2 separate regions of the Homo sapiens genome follow, and region 1 is linked to region 2. Evidence: promoter capture Hi-C in human tissues and cell types (Jung and others, 2019). All regions are on one chromosome and are shown on one strand. The core of a region is centred on a gene start or on the middle of the fragment in contact, and the rest is flanking DNA. Distances in the headings are between cores, read along the strand shown. Region 1 has its middle 13 kb from the start of LINC00159. Region 2 holds the start of SOD1 (superoxide dismutase 1).

Region 1 (2,718 bases), core at 49-2,548, 440 kb before region 2:
GCTGGGGAGATGGAACCAGTTGATTAAAATCTTTTGCTAGTCTAAGTCAGTCCAGGGTGCAGACTCTGAATGGTATGAGCCAGGGTGCAGAAGTGGGGCTGTTGGCTGGCCATGGAAGAGGACCCCTCCACAAATGCTCATGAGCACTGGTGAAGGATAGAGCATCCACTGGGGAAGGCAGCGGGCAGTCTCTTACAGCAATTACCACATTATTTTGCCAAGGGACACACTGAATGCATCTACTGGAATACAGGCCAATAGGAGTTGGATTTTACTGTGTTGGGCAAGCAGGCCCTCCTTGGAAAAATGGTTTGGTTGTGTGGCTTTTGTTTTGCATGCTCTCAGGTGATGCCCTAGGGAGACCTCCCAGGAGGAGGTGCAGCAGGCCTCCCTGCGGTGGGTTTGGCACGGGGGCAGGTCTGGCTCTGGTCCAGTAGCTGGCACTGACCCTCACCACCAGCAGCCTAAACAATGCCTGGCCTCCTCTGACTAGCAATTTGCAGAACAAACCCACTGGCTTCTGAGGAGGAAGCAGAAGAGGCCACGGTCATGGAGGATGAATGCAGAACAGCGGCTCCCCTTTTAAGAGGCTCGAAGGGGACCAGGGAAGGGGGTCTATGTCTGTGCCAGGAAGGCAGGCTTATGTACCCACTGAAAAAGCGGGACCCCTGTGAGAGACAGTGACGTGTATGGGAAAGAACAGCCTTGAGGGGCAGCTGGGGCCAGGCTGCCGAAGTGAATTTGTCACTGCCATGCAAACCTGTGTGACTTTGGGCAAGTGGCTTAACCTCTTTGTGCCTTAGTTTCCTCATCTACACAAGGGGGCAGTCACGGCACCTACCTCATAGGGTTGTTAAGAGGATGACATCAATTAATTCTTATTTAAAAAGTACTTGAAACAGTGCTAGGAGCATAGAAAGTGCTAGAAAAGTGTTTGCAAAATGAATCAGACACAGGTTCCTACTCCAATCCTGCTCCTTTCTGGATGTGTGAATTTGAGCAAGTGTTTCAACCTCCCTGGGCCTCTTCTTCATTCATGAAATGGAAATAATAATGCTGACCTTGCAGGGCCACTGTGAGGATCACACAAGCTCAGCAGGATGGACAGACCCTCCGTAAACAACCCTTGTTAATAGCCACATGCCCCGAGGACAAACAAGATTAAATCCTGGACCTCACAAATGCTTTTTTCCCCTAAGATTCCAAATAAAAACAGGCTCAGAGTGTCAGAGATCATTTTATAAGAGTTACAAAGAGGCCCTGGAGGGCCAGGTGACCTGAAACAATAATAATAGTAACAATAACAACAGCAGAAGCAGGAAAAACAGGTCCCAGGCCCTGGGCCGAACATTTTACATAGCTTATCCTGTTGAACCCTAGTAAGACTGTGAGGCAGGGGGCAGGGCAATTGATGATTATGATGGTGACGGTGATAATAATAATGATCATTTTATAGATGAAAAAATTGAGCCTCAGAATAACTCGTTCCACCTCACACTGCTTTTTAGGGTGAAACCTGGAGTGGAATGGACATCTCTCAACTCCACACCCATGCTCTGAACCACACGGCCTCCTAAGACACTAAAGGCAATTTCATCAGAATGCAGGGGACTCATGAGGAAGACCTCAGGGTGTTCATTGAACACCAAGATTAAAATGAGCCGAAATTCTGACACAGCTAGTAAAGAATTAACTGTGATGATTTCACTCAGTGCTAGGTTCCCCCAAATGACATGCTCCTTGTCACCTGCCCTGCCCAAGGCCTGGCTCTGAATATGTGGATACAGCCACATTTGCTTGGTCTCAGTTGGCTGGAATTTTTCATTGGCCTGGAAGGCCTTGAACCAGAGTTTCATTCGAGTAGAACTAAGCCTTCAAATGCAAACACTCCAGGTCTGGATTGTGCCCGCACTTAAGCCCACTGATGCTGAGGAGCAAAGGGCCAACATCTTTCCCTCTGCTCAGCCTCTGAGCCACACTTGGCTGCTTGCCAGGACAGAAGAGGTGAGAAGGTCCCAGCATGGGAGACTGGGGGCTGTGGGATATAAGTTCTCAAGATGACCTCTTTCTCCCTGGGAGGGAACTTCACAGCATTGCAGGCTATTCTCTGCAAGTAATGTCTCCAAGGTAGGATGGTTGAGAGCTAGAGATATGTGGGCTTGTGGTTGGGGTGGTGGAGGGGGAGTGTAGGAGGGAAGAGAGAGAGGAGGGCATGAACGCCAGATCCCAGATACACAAGGGACTCAATTGTGGTGGGGAAGCTTCAGTTCAGAAGGGGAGGGACAGGAGACCATGAGGCTGGACACGACACAGGAGAAGATCAAATGAAAGGCAAGGCACAGGCCGGGTACAGTGGCTCACACCTGTAATCCCAGCACTTTGGGAGGCCGACCAAAACCTCATGGTCAGGAGTTCGAGACCAGCCTGGCCAATATGGTGAAACCCCATCTCTACTAACAATAGAAAAATTAGCCTGGAGTGGTGGCGTGTGCTTGTAGTCCCAGCTACTTGGGAGGCTGAGGCAGGAGAATTGCTTGAACCCTGGAGGCAGAGGTTGCAGTCAGCCGAGATCACACCGCTGCACTCCAGCCTGGGTGACACAGTGAGACTCTGTCTCAAAAAAAAAAAAAAAAGAAAAGAAAAGAAAAGAAAAAAAAAGTCACAGCCACCAATAGCATAATGGGGAGGAAGGGACTTAGAAAAGCAAGCATATCTGGT
Region 2 (2,906 bases), core at 372-2,871:
AATGAAACAGCAAAATGGAGTCAAATGCCAAAGAACCTTTTCCAGAAAATCTGGAGACCTATTAAAGAAAAAGGCTAAACTCATTATCTCCCTCACATATATTTCAGACATTTACACAGACTAACTGTTCCTGTCCTCTCACGTTTCTGTAAACCCCTTTAAAGACTGAATCTCATTCGTATAGTAAATATTCCCTCATGATTTTTAAGCCGAGTGCAAGAGAAAATTTTCCACCAGTTGGTAACTTCACTAAGGTTCTGGGGACAGTGTTATCACAAGCACCTTCCTTGCAACACGTTTTGTAATTTTACTGATAAAAGTTCTGAAAATATTTCTGTATATTTTACAAGAGTCGTTCAGAAGTTTGTCTCTGACCATCTTAGCAACCTGCCTACTGGCAGAGCAATTTTAAAGCCACTTTACGAAAATGTGGCTTAAGAAATGCTCCGACAACAGTTATTAAGTGCCAATTCGGTGTAATGGAAACTCCAGGTCTTCTAATTTCCAAATACGAAACTCCACCCACTGTCCTCAAACGACAGTTCTCAATCGTAGGTGCACATCAAAATCACTTTTGGAAACTTTCAAAAAACAGCAATACTCACCCTGCACTAGGACAGGTTTTGATGTAATTGGTCGGAGGTTGGGCTCTGGTGTATTTTTAGTAAGATCTTCAAATAAGCTAACTGTGCACCCAAAGTTAAGATCACTGCCCTCAAAAATCCCCAAAAGGGTCAGTTAAACCTCTGGCTCCCGGAGCTTAGGAGGAGGAAAAGGACCTCTGTTCAAGGCTACCTTCTCTGCCCTTGCAGCCCAATCATGACCTAGAACAGAGGCCAGCAAACTTCCCTGCAAAGTGTCACACAAACGGTCTCTGTTGCGTATTTTTGTTTTCCAAAGCCTTTTAAAAATATAAAAACCATTCCTAGCCTTAGAGCTGTACAAAAGCGAAGACTCCCTGACCTAGAGCGCTGAAGCCGGAAAGCGGAGAGGGATGCGAAGACACCAGGCGGGCCCAGGCGCAGTCGCCATCCCCGGGCTGGGCCTGGCACTGCGCCACTCGGTGTCCGCGGGACCCTCAGGAACGAGAACACGGCCAAGCAAGGGACGAGCACAGCCGCTCCAGGCACCACGACAGACCCGCGGCGGCGGCCCAAGGACCACAGAGGGCAGCACGCCCGCCCCCGCCCCTCCCCGGCCCGCGGCAATCCCTCCCCGCGCTCCCGCCACGCGCAGGCCCAGCCCCGCGGCGGCCTCGGTCCCACGCCCCGCGCCCGGGCCCGCCCGGTGACTCAGCACTTGGGCACCGCACCGCTGGGGGCGAAGGCACCGACCGGGCGGCACGGGCCGGGACCGGGCGCTGGACCAGGGCGGCCCCGAGGCCTGGCGGGCGACCCGCTCCTAGCAAAGGTGCGCGGGGGGACGAGCGGGTGGGAGCGGCCTCGCAAACAAGCCTCCGTCCCAGCCCTTGCCTTCTGCTCGAAATTGATGATGCCCTGCACTGGGCCGTCGCCCTTCAGCACGCACACGGCCTTCGTCGCCATAACTCGCTAGGCCACGCCGAGGTCCTGGTTCCGAGGACTGCAACGGAAACCCCAGACGCTGCAGGAGACTACGACGCAAACCAGCACCCCGTCTCCGCGACTACTTTATAGGCCAGACCTCCGCGCCTCGCCCACTCTGGCCCCAAACCAATCGCCTCGCACGCGCTCAGCCCGCCCCCTGCGGCAGCCTCGGGTCGCGAGTGGCCGGGAATGACTGGGGGCGGGGCCAAGGGGCCGCGTGCGCCGGAGACTCCCCCCGCCCCGCAGCCGGGAAACGTCCAGAACCCCGAAATGTGGAGAAAACAACCTTCTTTTCACGGGGGCGTGGCCCGCCGGTTGCAGTACGCGAAATTGGCAAAATGATGTAAACAGGGTACGCTTTGAAAATCTGAAGTCACTTTGTCTAGAAATGTCATTAGTTATGACTGAGTTTGGCCACAGCGTCTCATTTGTTACTCAGCAATTGGGACGCCCCAAGATGGATGCTTTTGTAGTTTTCATTTTTTTGTCTTGTTTTTTAGTTTTCTGAGGGTATAGAAAGTCGCTACACCTCAATCCCGGGACTTACCTTTTCTTCCCCTGCAATTTTCTTAGTCCTTAGTATAGAGTTTCTTATTTGGTTGGCAGAATTCGGTATTCTTTTTATATTTTTCCTGTTTGGCAAGGCCACAACCCTACAGATAACCAAACGGCAACTAGTTGGCTTCTAGGCATCACCTGCGTTTTTGTCTGGCCTAAAGGCCACAACACTCAAGGAGGGTAGAATGGTGAAATAATTTATGATGCCTCCATACAACAGGAATGATAAATATGACTTACCTTTCAAGGGAAATATTTCAAAAACATATTGTGAAATGAGAAAATAGTGCAAACTACTTTTGTCCGGGGCGAGGGGGTTGTTTGTTTGATTTTTGAGACAGGGTCTCGCTCTGTCACCCAGGCTGGAGTGCAGTGGCGCCATCATAGCTCACTGCAGCCTCCACCTCCTGGGTTCAAGCCATCCTCCTGCCTCAGCCTCCCAAGTACCTGGGACCACAGGCATGTGCCACCACACCTGGCTGATTTTTGTATTTTGGGTACAGATGGGGTTTTACCATGTTGCCCAGGCTGGTTTCAAACTCCTGAGCTCAAGCCAGCCATCTACCCACCTCGGCCTCCCAAAGTGCTGGGATTACAGACATGAGCCACCACGTCCAGCCTAGTACTTAATATTGAGTATGGCAAAATACTGAGACTTAATTGAAGTCCAGTGTGAAACAACAATAGAAGCTATTCCAGCCTCGTTTGGAGTACACTACTATCGATTTATTTACTTATTTATTATTTACGCTATTTAGACCCTCAGACTCTAATGCATCCTCT

What was found. The method cuts DNA at HindIII sites, captures the fragments that hold promoters and counts their contacts. A contact is called where the count stands out against the background at its distance.
Region 1: a fragment that was not itself captured here is called in contact with the fragment with the promoter of SOD1 in region 2 in 1 of the 25 tissues and cell types used here (lymphoblastoid cells).

Annotation. Positions count from the first base shown.
Region 1 is chr21:32,098,362-32,101,079 of GRCh38, reverse strand. No RefSeq gene overlaps it. Among named protein-coding and RNA genes, the nearest start is that of LINC00159, 13 kb to the right of the region's middle. The HindIII fragment of the contact is 3,760 bases long and covers 1-2,718 here.
Region 2 is chr21:31,658,408-31,661,313 of GRCh38, reverse strand. It overlaps SOD1 (superoxide dismutase 1), which reads right to left and starts at 1,621. Exons shown (of 5, transcript NM_000454.5): 1 at 1,473-1,621. The coding sequence starts at 1,544. It overlaps SOD1-DT (SOD1 divergent transcript), which reads left to right and starts at 1,290. Exons shown (of 3, transcript NR_187558.1): 1 at 1,290-1,917. RefSeq lists enhancers at 1-279, 779-978 and silencers at 1,139-1,418, 1,689-2,008. The HindIII fragment of the contact is 13,368 bases long and covers 1-2,906 here.